4 separate regions of the Homo sapiens genome follow, and all the other regions are linked to region 1. The links are contacts of gene promoters, found by promoter capture Hi-C in blood cells and fetal thymus (Javierre and others, 2016). All regions are on one chromosome and are shown on one strand. Each heading gives the region's core, a stretch centred on a gene start or on the middle of the fragment in contact. The rest is flanking DNA. Distances are from core to core; before and after follow the strand shown.

Evidence for each region. Contacts are between HindIII fragments. The CHiCAGO score rates a contact against its expected background, and 5 or more counts as called.
Region 2: a fragment that was not itself captured here is called in contact with the fragment with the promoter of VPS35 in region 1 in 1 of 17 cell types (naive CD4 T cells); the score reaches 5.2 in naive CD4 T cells.
Region 3: a fragment that was not itself captured here is called in contact with the fragment with the promoter of VPS35 in region 1 in 3 of 17 cell types (naive CD4 T cells, naive B cells and naive CD8 T cells); the score reaches 6.5 in naive CD4 T cells.
Region 4: a contact is called between a fragment that was not itself captured here and the fragment with the promoter of VPS35 in region 1, in 16 of 17 cell types (megakaryocytes, erythroblasts, fetal thymus and 13 more). The highest score is 15.6, in megakaryocytes.

The regions. Positions count from the first base shown.
Region 1 is chr16:46,687,828-46,690,468 of GRCh38, reverse strand. It overlaps VPS35 (VPS35 retromer complex component), which reads left to right and starts at 1,291. Exons shown (of 17, transcript NM_018206.6): 1 at 1,291-1,338. The coding sequence starts at 1,336. ORC6 (origin recognition complex subunit 6) reads right to left here and starts at 810. Exons shown (of 7, transcript NM_014321.4): 1 at 699-810. The coding sequence starts at 763. RefSeq lists enhancers at 1-56, 107-186, 424-1,122, 1,123-1,820 and silencers at 527-826, 1,147-1,386, 1,537-1,586. The HindIII fragment of the contact is 9,040 bases long and covers 1-2,641 here.
Region 2 is chr16:46,938,448-46,941,088 of GRCh38, reverse strand. No RefSeq gene overlaps it. Among named protein-coding and RNA genes, the nearest start is that of DNAJA2, 34 kb to the left of the region's middle. The HindIII fragment of the contact is 1,765 bases long and covers 406-2,170 here.
Region 3 is chr16:46,876,764-46,879,404 of GRCh38, reverse strand. No RefSeq gene overlaps it. Among named protein-coding and RNA genes, the nearest start is that of GPT2, 6.3 kb to the left of the region's middle. The HindIII fragment of the contact is 2,979 bases long and covers 1-2,641 here.
Region 4 is chr16:46,824,976-46,827,616 of GRCh38, reverse strand. The region is part of intron 1 of C16orf87 (chromosome 16 open reading frame 87); the gene reads left to right. Among named protein-coding and RNA genes, the nearest start is that of C16orf87, 4.9 kb to the left of the region's middle. The HindIII fragment of the contact is 307 bases long and covers 1,186-1,492 here.

The DNA.
Region 1 (2,641 bases), core at 42-2,541:
ATGACTACCGAGTCCTGCAGGTTTGTCTTCAAATCTTTTAAGTGCTGTTTTCCTTGCCTTCCCTCGCCTGACTGCTCCACGTTTTAGCTACAATGGCTTTATTTCGAACCCCGGATCCCGCTTCCCATCTCAACGCTTTTACAGGAGCTGTCGCCCCTGCCTGGGCTGCTCTTGCCATATCTTTCCTCGCCTAGCATCTGCCATCAATCCGGCCTCAGCGGGAACGGCGCCTGCTTTTCCGAGTTTTGTTTGTTTCTTTGTGTTAAAGGCAGCCGCTAGGCCGCGCTCCACCCCAAGCCCAGTGGCTCAGGAGCATTGCCCGGTTAAGGTCTACACAGTCCTCGCCCTTACAGACAGCGGGGTCTGCGCCTCGTTGTCGGGTTCCCCGCTATAAACCCGACTGCAGTAGGCGTTGGCGGAATGAACGGAAAGTTCTCCCTGGCTCATTTTTCTACCCACGGACAGGGCTGGCTGTTCCCAGGGACGTGTGCCATCGCCGTTTGCTATCGCCCTTCTTGCCATCTCATTCAAGCTCACGGCCGAGAAGTTTTTCTTGAAGTAGGCCCTAAACCCCGCCCGGCCCCAGCGCTCCCCGTCACTCCCCCGCCGCCCGTCGCCTGGGAAGGGCGCGGGCCTCACCTGAGGGCCCAGGGCCGCGAGGCGGAAGCCCAGCCCTGGTCTTGCGCGGCCGAACTCACCTCAGCATGTCGGGCTCGGCGAGGCCCAGGCGCGGGGCTAGGCGCCCGATCAGCTCCGACCCCATGGCGCCGGCACTAAAGCGAACAATTCCCGTGAACGCCGCGGGTCAACGAAACCCGCGCGCAAAGGCTGCACCGGCCAGTGAGAGCCAGGCCCCACCCCCGGCGCATCTGGATTGGTTAGGACAGGACGTTGAGACCGTCCCACAAACCAATCAGGGTCTTCCTTTTGCGCATGCGCATCAATAGCGCAATCGCCAACGCAGATGCGGTGAACGTGGACTTGTCGGCTCCCCCTCCTTCCATTCCTTCTTGACAAACTCATCACACACTGCCTTTCCCTCCTGTTGTCTCCTGCCTGCCGCCGGGCGATCCCCACTGCCCTGCACTGCTCCGCCCACTCTCGCACGCTGTGGTGAGATTGGCTGGCGCTCAGGTCCGTCCATCTAGCGTTAAGTGACAGGGCCAATAAGCACGCGAGACTCGGGTTCCTAGAAGTAGGCCAATCAATGAGCCGCCTGTAGGGCCCGGGGGCGGGGCTAGAGAGGGCGGGGCTTGGAGGGGCCGCAGCGTCACATGACCGCGGGAGGCTACGCGCGGGGCGGGTGCTGCTTGCTGCAGGCTCTGGGGAGTCGCCATGGTGAGTGCTGAGGGGGCAGTGGCACCTGGGTCGACCCTCCTTGTAGCCCCTGCTCTCTCCCACCGCCCCGCACTCCAGCGAGTGGAGAAGGGGCCCCACAGACCGTTCGGGATTAAGACCAGCCCGATTTGGCCTGCGGGATAGGGGACAGCAGGAGGAAGGCCGCGGGCAGGCTGATCCGGGCCGGGGTGGGCGGCGGCTCTTGGCTGCGGCCGTTGCTGAGAGACGGGGCGGCCTCTCTGTGGGGTTGACTTGGCATGTAGGCTTTGGGGTCCATGAAGGCCTGCGGCCTCCTTTAAGTGGAATCGGTCACCTGCCTACCACGAGGGGACCGGTAGTCCTAGGTCTGAGCGTCTGGCCCCCGGGGCGCGTGGAGGCCCTGAGACTCGGAGGTGGCGCCGGGACCCGCCCAGATGTTGCGTTTCTACCTTTGTGCCTAGTTGTGCTCGGCCGTCCCCACGCCCTCCTGGAGGGGTCGCAGTGATTCCTTGGCCTTTCTTGGCCTCATACCCGCCTTCGGCTGCAGTGTTTGTCAGCGAGTTCTGGGGACCTGCTTACATGAATTTCCTGGAAGGACTCAGGCTGTCTTCTAATCCTGACGGTCGCAAAGGAGACTGATTGTTTACTTTAGCATTTGTGCATTGGGCGCACCTTGCCTCTTTTGTCTCGCCATTGATAAAATCCAAGTATTTGACTTGCTGGAAGCAGTACTTCTCCTTAGGGCCCGTCTATGACGGCAGCAAATCGTGGTGTGGCTGTTGGCCGGTAAACTTGAACTTCCTCAAAATGTGAATCTTTGTGTCTGGTTCCCACAAAGGCAAGTTGTCACTTGCATTTTATTAGCGTTTAACATAGCCTGCACTGTGTAAATAAATTTTTTGAGTATATACTGTATGTCCGCTTTAATTACCTTACTCACTCTGTGTAGATAGGCTTCTGTAAATCTGTAAGCCTGGAAACAGATTTCACTTTAAATGTCTTAATGCCAGAAAGGATTAAGTGTTTTACAAATACTATTTTCATATAACGTGTTGCCGTACAAGGTGATTTTGCCTGTTTCTCAGGATTTTTATAATTGGGAATTGATACAAGACCGGCGCAAAATTTAACTTTAGGATTTGTGTGTTTCCAGCGTTTATGGATTGACATTTATATTGTTTTGTAATGGAAAACACTTAATTGAGGATGTATTACACACTCCGATTCTTTGTTGGGTGAACCAGTTGGGAGCAATCAGCCAGACACACAGTCTTGTCCTCATGAATTTTATTGGGAAAGGAAACTTGAGTATTCGTTCTTTCAC
Region 2 (2,641 bases), core at 39-2,538, 250 kb before region 1:
CCCAGCCAATTTGTGCCTTTTTATCCTAAAAAATATTTCCATGTCTCTGGCTGGGCATGGTGGCTCACGCCTATAATCCCAGCACTTTGGGAGGCCAAGGCAGGTGGGTCTCTCGAGGTCAGGAGTTCAAGACCAGCCTGGCCAACATGGTGAAACCCCATCTCTACTAAAAATATAAAAATTAACCAGACATGGTGGCTCACACCTGTAATCCCAGCTACTTGGGAGGCTGAAACAGAAGAATCACTTGAACCCAGGCAGCAGAAGTTGCAGTGAGCTGAGATGGTGCCACTGCATTCCAGCCTGGGCGACAGAGTGATTCTGTCTCAAAAAAAAAAAAAAGAAAGAAATATTTGTGGATCTCAAAGTTGCAAAGATATTCTCTTAGGTTTTCCTCTAGAAGCTTTACAATTTTAGCTCTTAAATTTTAGGTCTGCAATCCATCTAAAATATAGCATATATAGAGGTAGGCATTGAGGCTTATTTTTTCCCCATATGGATGCTTTAGCATCCAAGTGTTTTAGCGCCATTTATTGAAGAGACTTTCCTTCTCCATTGTGTTTACTTTGGCATACTCGTCAACATAAGTGTGTGAAAGATATATGCGTGTGTGTGATTGCATGCAACACATGTATGTGGTCTATTTTATGCCAAAGTGATAAATGCATGGGAGTCTATTTCTGGACTCTATTCTGTTCCATTATTTGTCTGCCCTTTCAGCAGTACCAGACTGTCTTGATTACTATGGTTTTATTTATTTTATTTTTGAGACAGGGTCTCACTCTGTCGCCCAGGCTGGAGTGCTGTAGCACAATCTCAGCTCATTGCAGCCTCTGCCTCCCAGACTAAAGTGATCCTCTCACCTCAGTCTCCCAAGTAGCTGGGGCTACAGGCGCATGCTACCACACCTGGCTAATTTTTCTGTCTTTTGTAGAGACGGGGGTTTCGCTATGTTGCCCAGGCTGGTCTCAAACTCCTGGGCTCAAAGGATTCACCAGCCTTGGCGTTCCAAAGTGCTGGGGTTACAGGCATGACCCACCAAGCCTGGCTGATGATTACTATAGTTTTAGAACAGGCATATGTTTTTTTGTTTGTTTGTTTGTTTTTGTTTTTGAGACACAGTCTTGCTGTGTCACCCAGGCTGGAGTGCAGTGGCATGATCTCAGCTCACTGCAACCTCCGCCCCTAGGTTCAAGTGATTCTCGCGCCTCAGCCTCCCAAGTAGCTGAGATTACAAGCACCCACCACCACGCCTGGCTAATTTTCGTACTTTTAGTAGAGACAGACTTTTGCCATGTTGTCCAGACTGGTCTCAAACTTCTGACCTCAGGTGATCAACTCACCTTGGCCTCCCAAAGTGCTGGAATTACAGCAATGAGCCACCGCACCTGGCCTAGAACAGGCATATGTATATTGAATGCTGATGATACCAAAATGCTCTCTCAAAAAGTTGTATAAATTTGGCCGGGCATGGTGGCTCACATCTGTAATCCCAGCACTTTGGGAGGCCAAGGTGTGTGGATCACCTGAGGTCAGGAGTTCGTGACCAGCCTTGCCAACATGATGAAACCCCGTAAATTAGCCAGGTGTGGTGGTGGGCACCTGTAATCCCAGCTACTTGGGAGGATGAGGCAGGAGAACCGCTTGAACCTGGGAGGTGGAGGCTGCAGTACCTGGGAGGTGGAGGTTGCAGTGAGCCAAGACTGAGCCATCACACTCCAGCCTGGCCAACAAGAGTGAAACTGTCTCAAAAAAAAAAAAAAAAAGTTGTATAAAGTCACACCACTGCTAACAGTGTATCAGTGTTGGCTTCCCCTCTCTTACCAGCATGGGGTATTATCAACCTTATAAATCATGGGATCAGGTCTTAGTCACTGCTGTGTCCCCATCACTTAACCCTGTGCCTGGTGCACAGCTGCTAAGCCAGTGTTTGATGAATGAATAACATGAGGCTTTAGCATATCTATAAATATGCCAACACTCATTCAGATGCCCTGGTAGGTAACAAAGATAAGGCCATTAAATTAAACTCCAGGCAGCCAGGTGCAGTGGTTCACGTGCCCAGCCGCTCACACTTATATACCATATTTCCTTGAATGAGTGGGGTTTTGACACCCAATGTATTTCATGATGCTGGCCCGAAAGACTGGGGGCATTTTGCTTTAAAGCTTTAGTTTAGAAATGGCAAACAGCAGCTTAACTTAACCATAAAAGGACAAAGCCCCACAAAGGTCTTTTGGGGGAGGACTTTACCTTGTGTAAATGCCAAGGAGTCCAAATGGTCCTAGTTCCTAACTGGAGCCAACATGTCAATATAGATCTGCACCAAAAACAAATGTCCATGGCACCAGTCTTCATTAGGTAGGCCCAATTAATTTATTTTTGGGTTTCTTTTTTCATTTGGTTTAAAGATGTGGTCTTGCTCTGTTACCCAGGCTAGAGTACAGTGGTGTGATCATAGCTTACTGCAGACTTCAACTCTTGGGCTCAAACCATCTTCCTGCCTCAGGAAGTAGTCTCGGGTAGCTAGGACTACAAGTATGCACCACCATGCCCGGCTAATTATTTTATTTTTGTAGAGACTTGGTCTCACTATGTTGCCCAGTCTTGTCTCAAACTCCTGGCCTCGAGTGATCCTCCC
Region 3 (2,641 bases), core at 84-2,583, 190 kb before region 1:
TTTTATTTTTCTTATGGATGTTTGGGTAGATTAGGAAGTCTGAAAGCATCAACACTCTATTGTTGTGTGTGTGTGTTTGTGTGTGTGTTTTGAGATGGGGTCTCCCTCTATCATCCAGGCTAAAGTGCAGTGGCATGATCATCTTACTAGATCCTCAAACTCCTGGACTCAAGCCATTAACCCTCCTCAGCCTCCCAAGTAGCTGGGTCTACAGCTGCATGACACCATGCCTGACTGTTGTTAATGGTGGTTATCTTTGAGTGGTGGGATTATTGGTAACTAATTTTTCTTTTTGTTTAATGTACTTTCAACGTTTTAAGAAATTTTTAAAATAATAAATAAATTTTAAAAAAGAAACCTAGAATGGTCATATGATCTAGCAATTCCATTTCTGGGTATATCACGAAAGAATTGAAAGCTGAGACTTGAACAGATAATTATAAACTAATGCTCATTATGGCATTATGGCAACTGCTAAAAGGTGGAAACAACCCAAATGTCCATTGACAGATGAATGGGTGAACAAAATGTGGTATATATACACAAGAAATATTAGTCAGGCCTGATGTGGTGGCTCACACCTGTAATACCAGTACTTTGGGAGGCTGAGGCAGGCGGATCACGAGGTCAGAAGTTCAAGACCAGCCTGGCCAACATGGTGAAACCTCGTCTCTACTAAAAATACAAAAATTAGCCAGGCATGGTAGCGCATGCCTGTAATCCCAGCTACTCGGGAGGCTGAGGCAGGAGAATTGCTTGAACTCGGGAGGTGGAGGTTGCAGTGAGCCAAGATTGTGCCACTGCACTCCAGCCTGGGCGACAGAGCAAGACTCTGTCTCAAAAAAAAAAAAAAAAAAGAAATATTAATCAGCCTTAAAAAGGAAGGAAATTGTGACACATACCACAACACAGATGAAACTTAAAGACATTATGTAAAGTGAAATACACCAGATATAAAAGGATAAGTATGTATGATTCCACTTATTTGAGGTACCCAGAATAGGCAAATACATAGAGACAGAAATTTAAATATAGGTTACCAGCCAGGTGTGGTGACTCACACCTGTAATCCCAGCACTTAGGGAGGCCACAGCAGACAGATCCCTTGAGCCCAGGAGTTTGATATCAGCCTGGGCAAAATAGTAAGAACCTATCTCTACCAAAAATAAAGTAAATAAATAATAAATTAAAATAGAGGTTACCAAGGGCTGGGGGGAGGCGGAATGGGGAGTTACTGTTTCTTGTGTTTTTTTTTTGTTTTTTTGTTTTTTTTTTTGAGACAGAGTCTCGCTCTGTCGCCCAGGCTGGAGTGCAGTGGCACAATCTGGGCTCACTGCAACCTCCGCCTCCTGGGTTCAAGTGATTCTCCTCCGTCCGAAGTAAATGGGACTACAGGTGCATGCCACCATGCCTGGGTAATTTTTTGTATTTTTAGTGGAGACGGGGTTTCACCATGTTAGCCAGGATGGTCTCCATCTCCTGAACTTGTGATCCGCCTGCCTCAGCCTCCCAAAGTGCTGGTATCACAGGCATGAGCCACCGCACCCTGCTGGGAGTTACTGTTTAATGAGTACATAGTTTCAGTTTGCAACATGAAAACGTTCTGGAGATGAACAGTGGTTATGGTTGCATAATGTGGATGTATATAATGTCACTGAACTGTACACCCCCAAATAGTTAAAATAGAAAATTTTATGTACATCTTACCATATTATAATATGAATAAGGATTTCCTGTGTGATGGAAGATAATTTAAAAAGAGAAAGAGTGTAAATCTTAGAGTGTTTGTGGCCTTTTTCAGAGATGGCGACTGAGCAGTTTCTGGGGGTGTTAGAAGGTATTTGGGTATTTGCTTGGAATCTCCCTCCAACTCCTACATTTTAGTTAGCTTTAATCCTTGTCCTTCGTGTTTTTCTTTTTTTTGAGATGGAGTCTCGCTCTGTCGCCCAGGCTGGAGTGCAGTGGCCCAATCTTGGCTTACTGCAAGCTCCGCCTCCCCGGTTCACGCCATTCTCCTGCCTTAGCCTCCCAAGTAGCTGGGACTACAGGTGCCGCCAACACACCCAGCTAATTTTTTGTATTTTTAGTAGAGATGGGGTTTCATCGTGTTAGCCAGGATGGTCTTGATCTCCTGACCTCATGATCTGCCCGCCTCAGCCTCCCAAAGTGCTGGGATGACAGGCATGAGCCACCACGCCTGGCCCATGTTTTTCTTTCTAAATGAAGGCCTCATTTTTTTTTGTTTGTTTGTTTTTACATAGAGACAAGTTTTTGCCATGTTGCCCAGGCTGGTCTTGAACTCCTGGACTCAAGGGATCCGCCCGCCTTTGCCTCCCAAAGTGCTGGGATTACAGGTGTGAGCCACTGTGCCCGGCCTTCTTTTTTTTTTTTTTTAATTTAAGTCAGGCTCAAGTTTTTAGGGGATGGTCAGGGAAATTTCGTTGAGATCCTACTTGCTCTGAGTCTCCTTGAAGCAAATCATTGCCTCTAACAAGCAAATATTAGTTTAGGTGAGCTAATAGCCGGGACACATGTATCCCAATGCTCTCACCATGACGTTCAAAGTGGATTAAAGATAAACTTATGATACTAAGCTAAGCTATACACAAACAAGGGACACATTCTTATGTAACTTACAGAG
Region 4 (2,641 bases), core at 90-2,589, 140 kb before region 1:
GAGTGAGACTTCGTCTCAAAAAAAAAAGATAAATAAATAAATAAAAAATCTGTTTTACTTGTAAAACATACAAACAACCTAAATCTTTTTTTAAAAAAGTGAATTAATGCCCAGTAAACTATCAGTAAACAATACTTTGAATATTTTCTTTTTTTTAAAATCCTGAAAGTGTAATATTAGAATTTCAGTACTGTTAGGTTTAGTATTATCAACTGAAATTTAAAGAAACTTTAGTGTGTTTGTTTAAAATCTAAATTATACTATAATTAATGAAATGAGGTTAATATTACTGAAGTTGTCCAACCTATTTGATAATTCTTTTTACAGGATCTAGGGTGGTGATGGTGGTGGTGGTGTGTTTTTTGTTTTTTGTTTTCCAGGGCAGAGGTTGTGGGGAAGGAACTTTTTATTTTAAATAGGACTATAGAATGAATTAACTCAGACTATAGAATGAATTAACTCAAACTATAGAATGAATTAACTCAGGCACATGAGGGTTTATTGAGCATAAAACACTTTCATTTGTGGATGAAAATCAACCTGTTAATTCAGTTAGTCAGTGTTTGTGCATTCTGGGTCCCAAAGCCAAATGTATACTTCTCATCTAACTGCAACACTGTTAATTCTGGAGATGGATTGATATGAAGTTCTTTTGTATAAGACTGAAACCCAAATTCAAATTTATTGAGTTTCAGTAGCTGGAAGAAAATGCTTGCTGATTAGGAAAGGAGCTGTTGAGTAAGAACATGCATTTGCGTATTTTGGATAGCATTAATTTAAAACAATTTACATTACTGTGGATGCCCTTAATAATATGTTTAGGTGTAAAGGAAATGAGTCAGTGCCTTTGAGCTTGGTTTCTATGAAGATACGAAATTTGAAAAAATGTCAGACATCTATTTTAGACAGATTTTACACTATTTAAAAAATGTAGCATTTTTTTTGTCGTGATTTGAAGGGATCTCATTACATTCTTAACAAAGCAAGCTGTTAGACAAATCTGGAGTTTGATTATTTTTATTGATTTCTTTGTTATTTTTCTTAAATACAAATTGGAGATCCTTTGTTCAATGTTTTTATACAAAGAAAAGGAATTATTCTGCCAAAATTTCAATTTAGCTCAATTAGATCAAGTGTTTAGATTCTATAACATGAGGCATTCTGTACATACATAGATAAAAAGCTTCATAATTTTAACTCAGTTTTTACATAGCAGAACAACTGCCAAATGGGGGAATTTATCTTACAAAGGGAATTGCAGTTTTCTTACTGTAATTATTCTGTAAATACTTTTTCGTTGAGATTAGTTTCAGACTTTTGGTGAACATGTCTTGATTCCAAGGATCATTAACTTTGATATGGGTGAAATGATTATGGGGAAAACTAAAAAATTTTTTCAATGATTTTCAGTAGCACTTGGCTTAAAAAACAGTTATAAGTTTGGAGTAGAGAAAGGAAATTTACGTATTTTGCAGATTTGGAAACAGAAGCTTGAAGATCTTAAATATCTTGTCCGGAGTCATTCCTGGAACTAAGATATAAGATTCTGGATCTAAATTCCTACCTTCTCCTACATTCTCTTTTTTTATGTCAGCATACTTTTGCCCCTCAAACTGGTTGTTGTTAGAAAGAATAAGACCTAATATTTGATAGCACAACAGGGGGACTATAGTTAATAATAATTTTTTTTTTTTTTTTTTTTGAGACAGAGTCTTGCTCATGTTGCCCAGGCTAGAGTGCAATAGTGCACTCTTGGCTCACTGCAACCTCTGCCTTCCAGGTTCAAGCGATTCTCCTGCCTCAGCCACCCAAGTAGCTGGGATTACAGGCATGTGCCATGACGCCTGGCTAATTTTGTATTTTTTTTAGTAGGGACGGGGTTTCACCATGTTGGTCAGGCTGGTCTCAAACTCCTGACCTCAAGTGATCCACCTGCTTCGGCCTCCCAAAGTGCTGGGATTACAGGTGTGAGCCACTGCGCCCAGTCCTATAGTCAATAATAATTTAATTGTACATTTAAAAATAACTAAAAGAGTATAGATTGTTTGTAACAAAAAGGAAGAATGCTTGAGGGGTTGAATACCCAATTTTCCATGATGTGATTGTTACGCATTGCATGTCTATATTAGTGTACCCCATAAACATGTACACCTACTATCTACCCACAACAATTTAAGAATTTAAGAAAAATCTGGTTGCTATAAACTATTCTTTATTCTTTGTCAGTGGTAGTTGATATCTTCTCCTCTCATGTTAGAATCCTGAGTTATTTTCACTTCTTCCCACTTTATCACCAGTCATCAGTTTGGGCCTTTGTCTGTTTTTCTTGCCTTGGAAACTCTGGCAGATCTACCTTTTTCCATTTCCGTTCTCACTATTCCACTTGGTCCTTCATAATCTTTTACCAGGATTACTTTAATGACTTCCTACCCACTCACCCTTTTCAAATTTGTTCTATACCGTAAAAAGCTGTCAAACTAACATTTTAGGAAATGCTACCTTTTTTTCCACATACTTCCCCTTGCTCTGACCCTATTACAGTTTTCTATTGGTCACTCACATCAGTGCATATTTAATACATATTTATTTTTTATGGTATTGGTATGGTATAGTCTTCATGGTTTTGTTAAGCAGTAGAAGA